3 separate regions of the Homo sapiens genome follow, and all the other regions are linked to region 1. The links are contacts of gene promoters, found by promoter capture Hi-C in human tissues and cell types (Jung and others, 2019). All regions are on one chromosome and are shown on one strand. The core of a region is centred on a gene start or on the middle of the fragment in contact, and the rest is flanking DNA. Distances in the headings are between cores, read along the strand shown. Region 1 holds the start of ZNF532 (zinc finger protein 532). Region 2 overlaps ATP8B1 (ATPase phospholipid transporting 8B1). Region 3 holds the start of LOC124904310 (a long non-coding RNA gene).

Region 1 (4,174 bases), core at 1,047-3,546:
GGAATGGAAATCTATCGTCTCTCGCCCTTGCACGGGTCACGATTATACACCTTCGTGACCTTTAGCGGGCTTACATATGTATCTTTTTGTGTTCCGCAGGCTATGACCACCTGCTGTATGTACAATATGTGCTTGTTACATTTGTACACCATCTCCCTTCTAGAATTTAAAGACCTAGCTATTACATCTTGTTTACTCAATATCATTCCCCCATTAAGGAAAAAAAAAAACCTACATGAACTGAACATGCCATGTTTCAATCTGGCCCCAGTGGCTTTTTCTCTGAAAGCAAACGTGTGTCTTTTACACCAGGGCTTTCTCCCCACCCCAGGGGGTGTCTTCCATCCTTTTGTGGCTCAGTTGAAGGCGAAAAGGGCTCCAAACCACTAACTAACCAGAGGAGAGCCCCTTCTTCCACCTCCAGGGAGAATTTCAGATTTAATTTGTCCGAAGATAGCGTGCTCTCTTCTTACTCATTTGCCATCATTACGAGGAAAACAAACCACCACCTTGGCTTCAAGATCCTGGGTAGAGGCTCACGGTCTTTTCAACCATCTTTGGCGAGGCCTTGCTTCCTTCCACTCGAGTAAGTCGCGGCTTGGGGCCACGGAAAGGACTGGGTGAGAGCCCGCAATGTCGTTGGAAAAAAGCAGCCCTCCCTGCGCCCCCTCACCAGCCCCACCACCCCGCTCCACTCCCGGGGCGAAGCCGCGAGCCAGCGGCCCCGTATGGGCGAGACTTGGCAGGTCCGCGGGGCGCCTTCTCGCCGCCGCCGGACTCGGGGCTCCGCAGCGGCCGGGCGTCGGCGCCCGCCGGCCGCGGGGCTTCGCGCTGCCGCCGCCCGGTCCCGGAGCTCCCTTCCCCCACCGGCCGCCCCCTCCCCCTCGCCCGCGCTCCCTTTTGTTCGCTCGCCGCCCGGGCCGAGCCGCCGCCGCCGCCGCCGCCCGGCCCGGCGGCGAGGCCGCTCCACCGCACACGCACACACAGACCCCGGCAGCGGGAACGCAGATGACACGCCCGTAACATGGAAGCCGCCGCCGCCGCCGCTCCGACGACAGCAGCAGCAGCCACAGCAGCAGCCGCCGGCGGCGCCGCGCTGAACAAAGGTCATCCGAGCTGCGGCCCAGACGCCCGGGCTTGACCGCCGCGAAGGCCAACCCCGGGAAGGGGGTGGGTGTGCGCCTCTGGGGGTGCGGGGCGGCGGGAGGCGGCCGGGGCGAACGAGGGGCGCAGGGCAGCCGGACCCAGGGGCGCGGGTGGGCGCCGGGCAGAGGCGGGGTGCGGCCCCTCGTGCCCACTCCTGCGGGCCGGGGTGAGCGCGTGAGGCTCAGGCCCCTGGGCCTGCCCGCAGTGGCCTGTCCCACCCTGGCCTTGGGGACAGCCGGCCTTCGCGCCCCGCCAGCTGGCTTGGGGGGCCGAGGAGGAACCGCCCGGGCTAGGCCCCGCAGGTTACGAGACGGGGGCCACGTGAGCGCGGCTCTCCTACTCCCCCCGCCGGCGCCGGCCGGGCACAGATGCGTTTCCAGAGGCCTCCGTGCCCCCTCTCCCACTGGCCCTGCCTTCGCCCCCCGCCCCCTCCCCAGACAGCCCCAGTTTTCTTCCCCCGAGGTGAAGGGATTTGGACTTCTCCCCCCAGGTGCTTGAAAGAAGAGAAGGTTGGAGGAGGAGGAGGAGACTGGGGGGCTGCTGGTGGTGGTGACAGGGCTGGGAGAGAGAGGAGAGGGACGGAAGGGAGGAGGGGGCTGGGTGGGGTGGGGGTGACAGCAGAGAGGAGCCTGGTCAACAAGCCAGCACCACTGTGCTAGGAGGCCAGGCCGGCTCTGCAGCCGACGCATCCCGTGTGAGCAGACACACATAGCTCGCTTTCTTGGGGGCTCTTTGTCAGCCACCAACACAGAGAGCACACACTGACACACACGTACACAAAGATCTGAGCCAGGTTGTGGGAGGTAAGTGGGGGAAGGAGAAGGAGGGGGAAACAGTGTCTGCGGTGGGCTGTGGGGTGGAGGGGAGGGGGGATGGGCCCTGAGGGGCTCTGGGGTGCTTGCGAGGTGAGCATTTCCAAGGCTGTGTGCTCGTGGGGTGGGGGGACACACGATGACCTTCTCCTCCTCAGGAAGACCTAAGAGGGAAGAGCAAACCCCAGCGAGATCCCCCCTGTGCTGATGATTTTCAGGGACTTGTTGGCAACTCAGCGAGGGTTGCCATAGCTTTTTTATGTAGGGTGACCAGAACCGGCTGAAACTGGTTTGAGGCAGATCAGCTCCTGAACACAATGCAGTCACTGAGCTACTACAGTAGGATAGCAGCTTCCTCCCTTCATGGCAGCCAAAAGCAGAGGAGCTTGCAGGAAGGTACCATCCCTACACAGTATGTGAATGCACACTTAGACACCACACAGCACTGGTACGTGACTAATGGAGCCCTAAAAGATTCTGGGTAGAGAAGATGGAAAAAAAGGTGCAGGTTTGCAGGGTCTGAGATTACTTGGGCTTTTCCTGCCTTTTTCTTTTGCTTAAGGGATGGACAAGGAGCTGAGATTTATGACCCTTATTAGAGAAAAAAATGTGCCTTGCTAGGGTGGGGACACTTGGTTGATGCAGTCTCTCTCTCTCTTTCTCGGTGTTTATAACAAAACAAAACCAAAATGAACTGAGGGGTTTGTAATGGTAGTTTGTTTGTTGCTGGAGAATGCTACTTTGCATGCTTTTTTTCTCTTGCAGGGTATGTTCTGTCTTGTGCTTTTTCTTTTAGAAGCTACTAAAGGGTGTTGGGGATGCTTCTGACTATTATGAAGGCCAAAAGGTAACAATATCGTTCTAGGAAATGAACATAAATGCATTCCAGTGATGCTGTTAGCCATACATGCTGTCTTTTTTTTCCTTGTAGGCCTGTTGACTGGGGCTGCTTTTAACCCTTTCCTATTTGCTGAGAATGCAGCCGTGTGACAGTAACTGAACATTGGTCTAAAGTCTTTCCAAAAGGTCAAGGTTCACAAGGTGAGATACGCTGTTTTGAGCATGAATTTAAATATTTATTTGCAGATCCATTTAGACACAGACGGACCGTGGATTGCTACCCAGGAGATAAAATTGGGTTCAGAGTGGAGAAGAAATGCTCTTAATGTTATCCCAGTTTAATGGGATTAGAGTGACTTTATGATGGTATTGCGATCAAGGCGAAATCTGAATGCCTTCATTAAATCGCATGTGTCTGGGCAATTGGGAGAGTCAGGCCTGGAAGGAAGCGAGTGTGGAGAATGGTAGGCGTCAGGGCCTTGTGGAGAATGTGCTGTTTTGCATAAGACGAAAGCAGTACACATGTGGCATTTTCCCGATGATTATAAGAAAAGGAAGGGCTTCACCAAATCGAGGCAGCCTAGCCACCTTTTTAGGATTTGAGGAGTCTGAAGGTAGATTTGCCTTTTGTTCATTCATCACCTTTCTTTTACCTTGCTCTCTTGTGTTAACCTGAAAGGTTTTTCACTCCGACTCAAGTGGTGGAATGTCTTTTATTGATTTTGGGGGCTGTTGACGGTGAGTTCGCCATTGGATTCTTTGTGGCATATGTTTAATGTGGAATACTAATGCAATACCAGGGGGAAGCCGGGTAGTCTGGCTTCATCTGTGAAAAGATGCCTGTTAACTCAAAGCTGTACTGGAATGGGTGGTAGAAAATGTCTGATGCCTTTAAAGATCGCAGTTAGGTTTGAGCAGGCATTTTAATGCACCTTCCAAAACCAGAGGTTGGAGAGGAGAGGAGAGAAGGAAGGAGTGAGGAGAGTAGCAAAGTGAAGAACAAAGGCTGAGGGGGCTTGCAGGAGAACACTCAACATTTTGCCTTGGGTTCCTTGTGAAAAGAACTGCAACTTCCCCAAACAGGAAACCAGCAGCTCCAGAATGGGATCCAGTGTGATCTCAACAACAGATAGAACTGGTCCTGCCTTTCTGCTGGTTTTTGGTAAAAGTACAGTCAAGAGGAGCCCATAGAAGACATGACTGAAAATAAAATTTTCCCCTACTTCGAAGTGGGCATTTTGTTCCTCTCCGTGTTCAGCAGAATAGGGGCTTTTCAGCAGTGCCGAGGATCTTGGAATTGGTTAAGTTGTGTGCTGGCAGTTGGTGGGCAGGATATCTGCAGTGAAGGACGTCAAGTATGCAAGGGTTTTATTGTT
Region 2 (4,174 bases), core at 525-3,024, 1.2 Mb before region 1:
CCAGAAAAAGGCAGCCTTCTAGGGAGGTGAGGAGGATGATGAGAGCACGTGGAAGCTTTTCTTCAGTGCTAAACATGTTACTCTAAACTCACACCAGGTGACCCAATGATGAAGTTCCCACAGATTTACCAAAGGTAGGAAGAAAGTCCCAGAAAGAAATGCTTAGATGAAGGAGAATGATATTGTCAAAGCAAGCACCAGCCAGAGTTCAATAATTTATGTCTTACAAAACTTATTAAATATCAGGGTTTTTTGTTTTGTTTTGTTTTTTTGAGATGGAGTCTCACTCTGTCGTCCAGGCTGGAGTGCAGTGGCACGATCTCAGCTCACTGTAACCTCCGCCTCCTGGGTTCAAGTGATTTTCCTGCCTCAGCCTCCCGAGTAGCTGGGATTACAGGTGTGCACCACCACACCTGGCTAATTTTTGTATTTTTAATAGAGACGGGGTTTCAGCATCTTGATCAGGCTGGTCTCGAACTCCTGACCTTGTGATCCACCTGCCTCGGCTTCCCAAAATGCTGGGATTATAGGCGTGAGCCACTGTGCCCAGCCAATATCAGGGCTTTTAATAAACCCAAAATATGGGAAGAGAACCAGTAAGAGAGAAAAAAATACACAACATCTATATAAAAGAATAAAAATATAAGGATAAATTTCCCCCCATAGACCTTATTTTCCTCTTCGCATCCTTCAGAAGCCCTGTCAGTGATACTCTTTCCTCCTGATGGGCTGTGGGCTTTCTGGGGGTAGGGTCACAGGCGTTGTCATGGTTAAGTGACTTTATGAAACATCTGCTCTATGAAAACCTAAGCTGTAAAATCTAAAAAAAGAAAATCCACCCCCTACACATTCCAGCCATTTCTCCTCTCTAGCACGTTGGGCCTCACTGGCCGTGGGTGCATGACTCACTTTTGATCATGTTCACGTCATTGGCCCCATCTCCGATGGCCAGCGTGATGGCTTTCTTGTACCTCTTCACCAGGTCCACCACCATGGCCTTCTGCTTGGGGGTGACGCGGCAGCAGATGACTGCGCTGCACTCGCAGGCCAGGTCCACAAAGTTTTTCTGCCGCTGCTCTTTCTTAGCTTCTAGCCTCCTTTTACTTTGGGTCCGCATCCGTCTTTCTTCTTCTGTTCTTGGGAACTTCAGCTTCAGAATCTTATTTCTCTTGGTCTTTTTCTCGAGAAGAATTTCATTCTGTGAAATCAGAGAGGGAAAAGGTTACATTCACTTTAGTTTTACCCCAGGAGTACCATTCCCAAGATTTAAATTATGTGAAGGATAATTTTTGGATTATGTCACTGATTATATTTGACAAATAAATTTGATTTTATAACCAAAACATGTATATATATGTGTGCGTGTGTATGTATATACACACGCACACATATATGTATGTGTGTATGTATATACACACACACACACACACACATATATATATATATATATTTTTTTTTTTTTTTTTTTTGAGATGGAGTCTCACTCTGTTGCCAGGCTGGAATGCAGTGGCACGATCTCGGCTCACTGTAACCTCTGCCTTCCAGGTTCAAGCAATTTCCCTGCCTCAGCCTCCCGAGTAGCCGGGACTACAGGTGTGCACCACCACGCCTGGCTAATTATTTTTTTTGTATTTTAGTAGAGACGGGGTTTCACCATATTGGCCAGGATGGTCTCCATCTCCTGACCTTGTGATCTGCCCGCCTTGGCCTCCCAAAGTGCTGGGAGCACAGGCGTGAGCCACTGTGCTCAGCTATATATATATTTTTCAATGGAGATGGGGTCTTGCTGTATAGCCTGGGTTGAAGTGCAGTGGCTATTCATTCACAAGTGTGATCATTGCATGCTGCAGCCTCGAACACCTAAGCTCAAACCACCCTCCTGCTTCAACCTCCAGAGGAGCTGGGACTACAGGCGCATGCCACCACATCCAGCTTATAAAATATATATGCAACAAAAATTTAGAAAATCTAACAATCTATAAAGAAGAAAATGAAAAAACCCATTAATTAGTAAACCAAGATAACCACTTTTACCTCTTTGGTATACATCCTTTCATATATCATATATTATTAAGTCTCAAACTTGGAAAAACCACACTTTCATGTATAGGCTAAGAGACTTTTAGGTTGGCAGTTAACATGTGAAAGCATCTAAAAGTGGCTCCAAATGAACTTCTTTCTTTTGAGTTAAAGGCACAGATACACTAATGATACGTACCAACCAAGAACCAGTGATGATTAAGGCACGGTTTCCACCGGGTGGAAAAAAAGATTCCTGCACAGGAGGTGCAAACTTTGCGTAGACGCCACCTCTATTCCTCTGGTTTTCCATCCTTGCATGAAGAAGAGAACTAGGGGAAACCAAATTTCAGTGTTTAAAGTGTAAGACCCTAAATAGGCCCTTGACTCTGAGATAACTTTGACTTAAAAAAAATTGTGACAAAAAAACAAAGTTTACCATCTTACCTATTTTTGTTTCTTTATTTTATTTTCATTATAATTTTTTTGAGAGAGGGTCTCACTCTGTCACCCAGGCTGGAGAGCAGTGGCATGATCATGGATCACTGCAGCCTTGACCTCCCAGCCTCAAGTGATTCTCCTGCCTCAGCCTCCTGAGTTGCTGGGACTATAGGCACACGCTATCACGCCTGGCTAATTTTTGTATTTTTTGTAGCAATAGGGTTTTGCCATATCCCGGGCTTTGACCATTTTTAAGTGTACAACTTAGTAGTGTTAACTATAGTCACATTGTTATCCAACCAATCTCTAGAACTTTTTCATCTTGCAAAACGGAAACTCTATACCTATTAAACAATAACACCTCACCTCACTCGCCCTCCAGTCCCTGGTAACTTCCAGTTAACTTTCTGTTTGAATGAATTTGAGCACTCTAGATACCTCATATATGTGAAATCAAACAGTATTTGTCTTTCTGTGACTGGTTTATTTCACTTAGCTTAATGTCTTCAAGGTTCATCTATATAATATATGTCATAATTTCCTTCCTTTTTAAAGTTGAATATATTCCATTATGTGGAAGCACCACATTCTGTTTATCCATTCACTCACTGATGGGCACCTGGGTTGCGTCCATCTCTTGGCTGCTGTGAACAGTGTTGCTGTGAACATGGGTGTGCATGTATCTCTTTGAGATCCTGCTTTCAATTATTTTGTGGATATACCCAGAAGTGGGATTGTTGCATCATATGGTAATCCTTTTTGAAATTTTTTGAAACATCACCATACTGTTTTGCATAGTGGCTGCACCATTTTATATATTTCATCAACAACACACAAAGGTTCCTTCAACAATGATTGTTATTTTCTATTGTGTTTTGTTTTTGATAGTAGCCATCCTAAAGGGTGTGAGGTGTTATCTTGCTTTGGTTTTGATTTATCTTCCCCTAATGATTAGTGATGATGAGCCTCCTTTCACATGTTTATCAGCCATTTGCATGTCCTCTTTGGAAAAATGTCTACTCAAAGTGCTTTGCCCATTTTTTTTTTTTTTTTTTTTTTTTGAGGCAGAGTCTCGCTCTGTCACCAGGCTGGAGTGCAGTGGTGTTATCTCAGCTCACTGCAACATCCACCTCCTAGGTTCAAGCTATTCTTCCACCTCAGCCTCCCAAGTAGCTGGGACTACAGACGGGCACCACCATGCCCAGCTAATTTTTGTATTTTTAGTAGAGACAGGGTTTCACCATGTTGGCCAGGATGGTCTCAATCTCTTGACTTCATGATCCACCCGCCTCAGCCCCCCACAGTGCTGGGATTACAGGCATGAGCCACCACGCCTGGCCAGCCCTTTTTTTTTTTTTTTTTTAACTGAGCGACATGTAATTTTACTATGTCTCGATTCATCCACCATGGGGGTACCATGTAATTCATCATTTTTCAAAGACAGTCAAAGGAAGATACAGTTGAAAATGTATACACAGCAACAGAAGAAAGGCAATCTTAGGCCAGGCACTGTGGCTCACACCTGTAATCCCAGCACTTTGGGAGGCTGAGACGGGCAGATCAGTCGAGGTCAGGAGTTCGCAGCCAGACTGGCCAACATAGTGAAACTCTGTCTCTACTAAAAATACAAAAATTACCCAGGCGTGGTGGCGGTGCCTGTAATCCCAGTTACTTGGGAGGCTGAGGCATGAGGATCACTTGAACCCAGGAGGCG
Region 3 (4,174 bases), core at 1,055-3,554, 1.1 Mb before region 1:
ATGATAGCACCAGCTAGCATTTATTGAGCCAATGCTATGTGTCAAGTACCATACCAAACATTTAACACACACAAATGCATTTAAATATACAAGGATCCAATAAGGTAGGTCCTGTTATTCCCCTTGTATAAATGAAGACACTGAGGTCAAGAAACTTGTCCATGGTCTCACAAGTGTGCGGTAGAGTCCAGATTAAAACCCAGCCAGCCCAGCATCCTGCTCATAAAACCCTCATGCTGAGAACTGCTGAACTGCATTTTTTTTTTTTTTTTTTTGAGACAGAGTCTCACTCTCTCACTCAGGCTGAAGTGCAGTGGTGCGATCTCAGCTCACTGCAACCTCTGCCTCCCAGGTTCAAGCGATTCTCCTGCCTCAGCCTCCTGAGTAGCTGGGACTACAGGTGCATGCCACCATGCCCAGCTAATGAGAACTGCTTTTTCTTGCACTCAGGCAGAAGTGCCTCAGCCTAGCAAGCTTCCCTAGGTGCCCACCCACCCCAGCTGCCAATGGGAACCGCAGTCCAATATTTCACATTTCGGTTAGATGTCTCAAAATTTGTTTAGCACTTTCCAGAGCAGTCCACAAAATGCCACTTGCCTTGACAGGCCTGTGTTCTATATGCAATGGCACCACAGAATTTAGTTACCATCCACTTTGCCTCCATCCAGTTTGGGATCTTCCTCACTCCGTGAGACACAAGGCTCCTTTCTCCTGCCTCCAGCCGGCCCACCCTCAGAACAGGGTACCCCTGGAGCCAAATTGTTGAGGCAGGAGCTCCAGATGGGTAGAAATGGGATAGAGGAGAAGGAGAGGCTGAGACAGGGACTTTGAGATGCACTGCAAGCCAGCCAGTGGGGAGGCTACCCCTTGGGGGCAAACCACACGCAGGGGACAGGTATACTGGGGCTTGCCTACTGCGGCAGATCGCAAGTTCATGGCAATATACCTGTAGGTGAAAACATGTCAACATGCCCCAATGTTAAGGACAGAACAGCAAAGGGACAGTCAGATACGAGTTAAAGTCACCGTTCTTCTAGAAACATGGATGTGAATTTTGTTTGTTTTGTTCTGTAACAGAGTCTCGCTCTGTCGCCCAGGCTGGAGTGCAGTGGCACGATCTCGGCTCACTGCAACTTCTGCCTCCTAGGTTCAAGCGATTCTCCTGCCTCAGCTTCCTGATAGCTGGGATTACAGGCACGTGCCACCACACCTAGCTAATTTTTGTATTTTTAGTAGAGACAGGGTTTCACCATGTTGGTCAGGCTGGTTTTGAACTCCTTTTCAAGTGATCTGCCCACCTCAGCCTCCCAAAGTGCTGGAATTACAGGCGTGAGCCATTGCACCCTGCCTGGACTTGAATTTTTGTCAGAAAGAGATTTGCAATTAATGCTGATTGCAACTGATGGCAGAATTAAGATGGTAAGTCTTATATCACAACCACCTCCTAAAATCAAAATGGAGCTGTTTCTGTAGGAGTCAGACTACCTCCTTTAGAGGATATGGGAGTAGTCCATCACTCATTCAGACAGTTTTATTAAGCGTGATATAGTCTACCTCTCTCAGCACTGGGCGTGGTGCATCTCCTATTGTTAGGCAATTCCCTTACTTCCTGATCCTTCAATTCACTTACTTCCTGATCCTTCAATTCACTTTCTTTATAATTACGAAATGGTCTGAGATAACCAGGTTCCCCTTGCTCAAGCTTCCAAAAATCAGGCTGACAAGTTACATTTGGACATCTGCTCTTCAAAAGCCAAAGGCAGAGTTTTCTGTTAAATAATGAGCTGTCCAAGCATATTTTGATTCATTCAGGCCACATACAGCAGCAGGAGTTTCTGGGTGGTGCCTCAGGTCTAAATTTTACTGTAATCCTACAGGTTAGAAATCAATGAGCTGATCAGAACATATCCAGTTTCCAAAGATATGAGTGGCACCATCAATATAAATTAGTTCTCCAGTAATGTCAAAGGGCACACTTAGCAGTGCTGTCAGAACAACCAGAAAAACCACATTCAAAAGGGAACACAGCCTAAGGCACACAACTCATGATAAATACCTGGGAAAAAACCAGTTAGCTCTGCCTTTAGCTGTTCCCACCCCAATTTTCACGATTAAAACTACAATCGACATACTAATTAGTCGGCAGACATCTCTATAATGTTTATACTCCTAAAAAACATGTTATGTTGGTTAACTGAACCTATACAATACTTAGAAATCTCCCTAAAGTTATCCTAAAAACAAAACAAAAACAAAAACTTTGCAAGCTTTCTGAGTTCAAACCTGTAATTTTGTTACCTATCAGTGCTTTATAAAAGAGCTAAGATAATTATAAGGAACAAGCCTCCTAAAATGTAAAATTCCATTGTTCCTCTACTACCCGCCCATCAGTGGCAAATAAACACCTTACCATGACATTCACTGTGAGTATTGCTAGCGGGAGAAGTGGAGGAGAAAGCAGTCAATTATACCTGATGATCAGGGATGGAGAGAGACAGGAGGGATGCTGAGTTGGCCTTGAAGGTCAAGTCCCAAGCTGGGCCACTATCTGATTGGGAGATAGAAAGTGAGAGGAGAAAGGCATTTCTGGAAAGAAATCCCTGGGGGCAAATATTCTGCAGCACTGAAGGCACACAGGATTAGTTCAGTTACTAAAGTGCGGGTAGACAGGGGAGGAAGAAGAAGAGAGTTGGAAGAGGAGACTGGAAAGCAGACTGAGGCAAGGCTGGGAAGGCCTTGGGTGCTAGCGGCATTTGGAATTTGTGTGCTAAGCAGGGAGAGGCCATCTGAGTTCTCCCATGCATTGAGTAAACAACACGTCCCGACCTCGTGGCAGGTATTCAGTCAGCTGCTGGTGAGCAACGTGGCTCCTGTCCCTATGAAGCTTAAAGTCTAAGGTAAGGCAGACCCTAGGAATTCGGCGCACAGAAGCCTCTCTGCTGTGATGGAGAAGTAACAGGGACGATGAGGACATAGAGCAGGGAAGGGGGCCTAGGAAGCTATTCTGGAAGAAGTGAGTTGGTTCCTGAAGTTGAAGCACCTGCAGAGGTGAGGAGGTGGGGAGCAGAAGTGCAGGATCCATCTGTGCAAAGAGGCTGGGGCCTCAACAACATGAACTGTTTTAATCAGATTTGCATTTTAGAAATGATAACCCTAGGCCTGGAGCGGTGGCTCATGCCTGTAATTCCAACACTACGGGAGGCAGAGGCTCTACTAACAAATCTCTACTAAAAATACAAAAATTAGCTGGGTGTGGTGGTGCATGCCTGTAATTCCAGCTACTCAGGAGGCTGAAGCAGGAAAATCTCTTAACACAGGAGGCAGAGGACGCAGTGAGCCAAGATCACACCATTGCACTCCAGCCTGGGTGACAGAGCGAGACTCTGTCTTAAAAAAAAAAAAAAAAAGAAAAGAAAGAAATGATAACCCTGACCAAGGACTCCAGGAAAAGATGGTGTTAATCTGTGGCCAAGACAAGAGTGCAGAAAGTCCTTACTGTCCTCTGGCAACAGGGGCCAAAGGCGGAGGCTAATAAGGTGGTGCAGACAGAAAGGGTGGGATTTCTGGCAGAACTTTCAGAGGCAGAGGCAGCATTTTACAACTCACTTCATCCGGGCAGGGGGTCTGGGAGGAAAAACATTGAAAAAGGTGCCCAGTTTCTAGCCTTAGCAACTGCTGCAGGCAGCTGAACTCTGCAAGGGTTCTTATTTGGCCCTGACATTCTATACGCACTTATTAGCATTTTATTCAAGAAGAGGGTGGTTCCCCCAAATGTTTCCATATTTAGCCAAAGGAAGCTAAATTTCAAACTTCAAGTGTCTACTCAAACCTAAGACTGAACCCCTCAATTTCCCTCATAACTCCATTATCCCCCAGGCTTCCTCACGTCAGTAAAAGGCAACCCCATCTCCCAGGTGCTCATGCCAAACACCTAGAGTCATGCTGGAGTCTCATCTTCCCTCCTACCCTGCTCCCTATTCATCCGTAAGCCCTAGGCTCTGCCTTCCAAATGTTTCCAGAACCTAAAACCTCTCCTCACCTCCCTGCAAGCTGCTTGGCTGAAGCTCTGTTCTCCCTCACCCGGATTAGAGGTAGCCCCAGACAGCATGCCCTTCAGTCTAGCTCCAACATGGAGGGCAGGCTGATTCTTTCCAAAGGTAATCAGATGGAGTTA

What was found. Contacts are between HindIII fragments. The study calls those that stand out against the background at their distance.
Region 2: a contact is called between a fragment that was not itself captured here and the fragment with the promoter of ZNF532 in region 1, in 1 of the 25 tissues and cell types used here (dorsolateral prefrontal cortex).
Region 3: a fragment that was not itself captured here is called in contact with the fragment with the promoter of ZNF532 in region 1 in 1 of the 25 tissues and cell types used here (aorta).

What each region holds. Positions count from the first base shown.
Region 1 is chr18:58,862,581-58,866,754 of GRCh38, forward strand. ZNF532 (zinc finger protein 532) reads left to right here and starts at 2,297. Exons shown (of 10, transcript NM_001375912.1): 1 at 2,297-2,805; 2 at 2,890-2,999. RefSeq lists an enhancer at 1-294. The HindIII fragment of the contact is 28,079 bases long and covers 1-4,174 here.
Region 2 is chr18:57,660,265-57,664,438 of GRCh38, forward strand. It overlaps ATP8B1 (ATPase phospholipid transporting 8B1), which reads right to left. Exons shown (of 28, transcript NM_001374385.1): 21 at 2,219-2,351; 22 at 910-1,198. The region is part of intron 2 of ATP8B1-AS1 (ATP8B1 antisense RNA 1); the gene reads left to right. Among named protein-coding and RNA genes, the nearest start is that of ATP8B1-AS1, 32 kb to the left of the region's middle. The HindIII fragment of the contact is 6,266 bases long and covers 1-4,174 here.
Region 3 is chr18:57,769,812-57,773,985 of GRCh38, forward strand. All of the region lies in intron 1 of ATP8B1 (ATPase phospholipid transporting 8B1), which reads right to left. LOC124904310 (a long non-coding RNA gene) reads left to right here and starts at 1,281. Exons shown (of 2, transcript XR_007066388.1): 1 at 1,281-1,419. The HindIII fragment of the contact is 5,328 bases long and covers 1-4,174 here.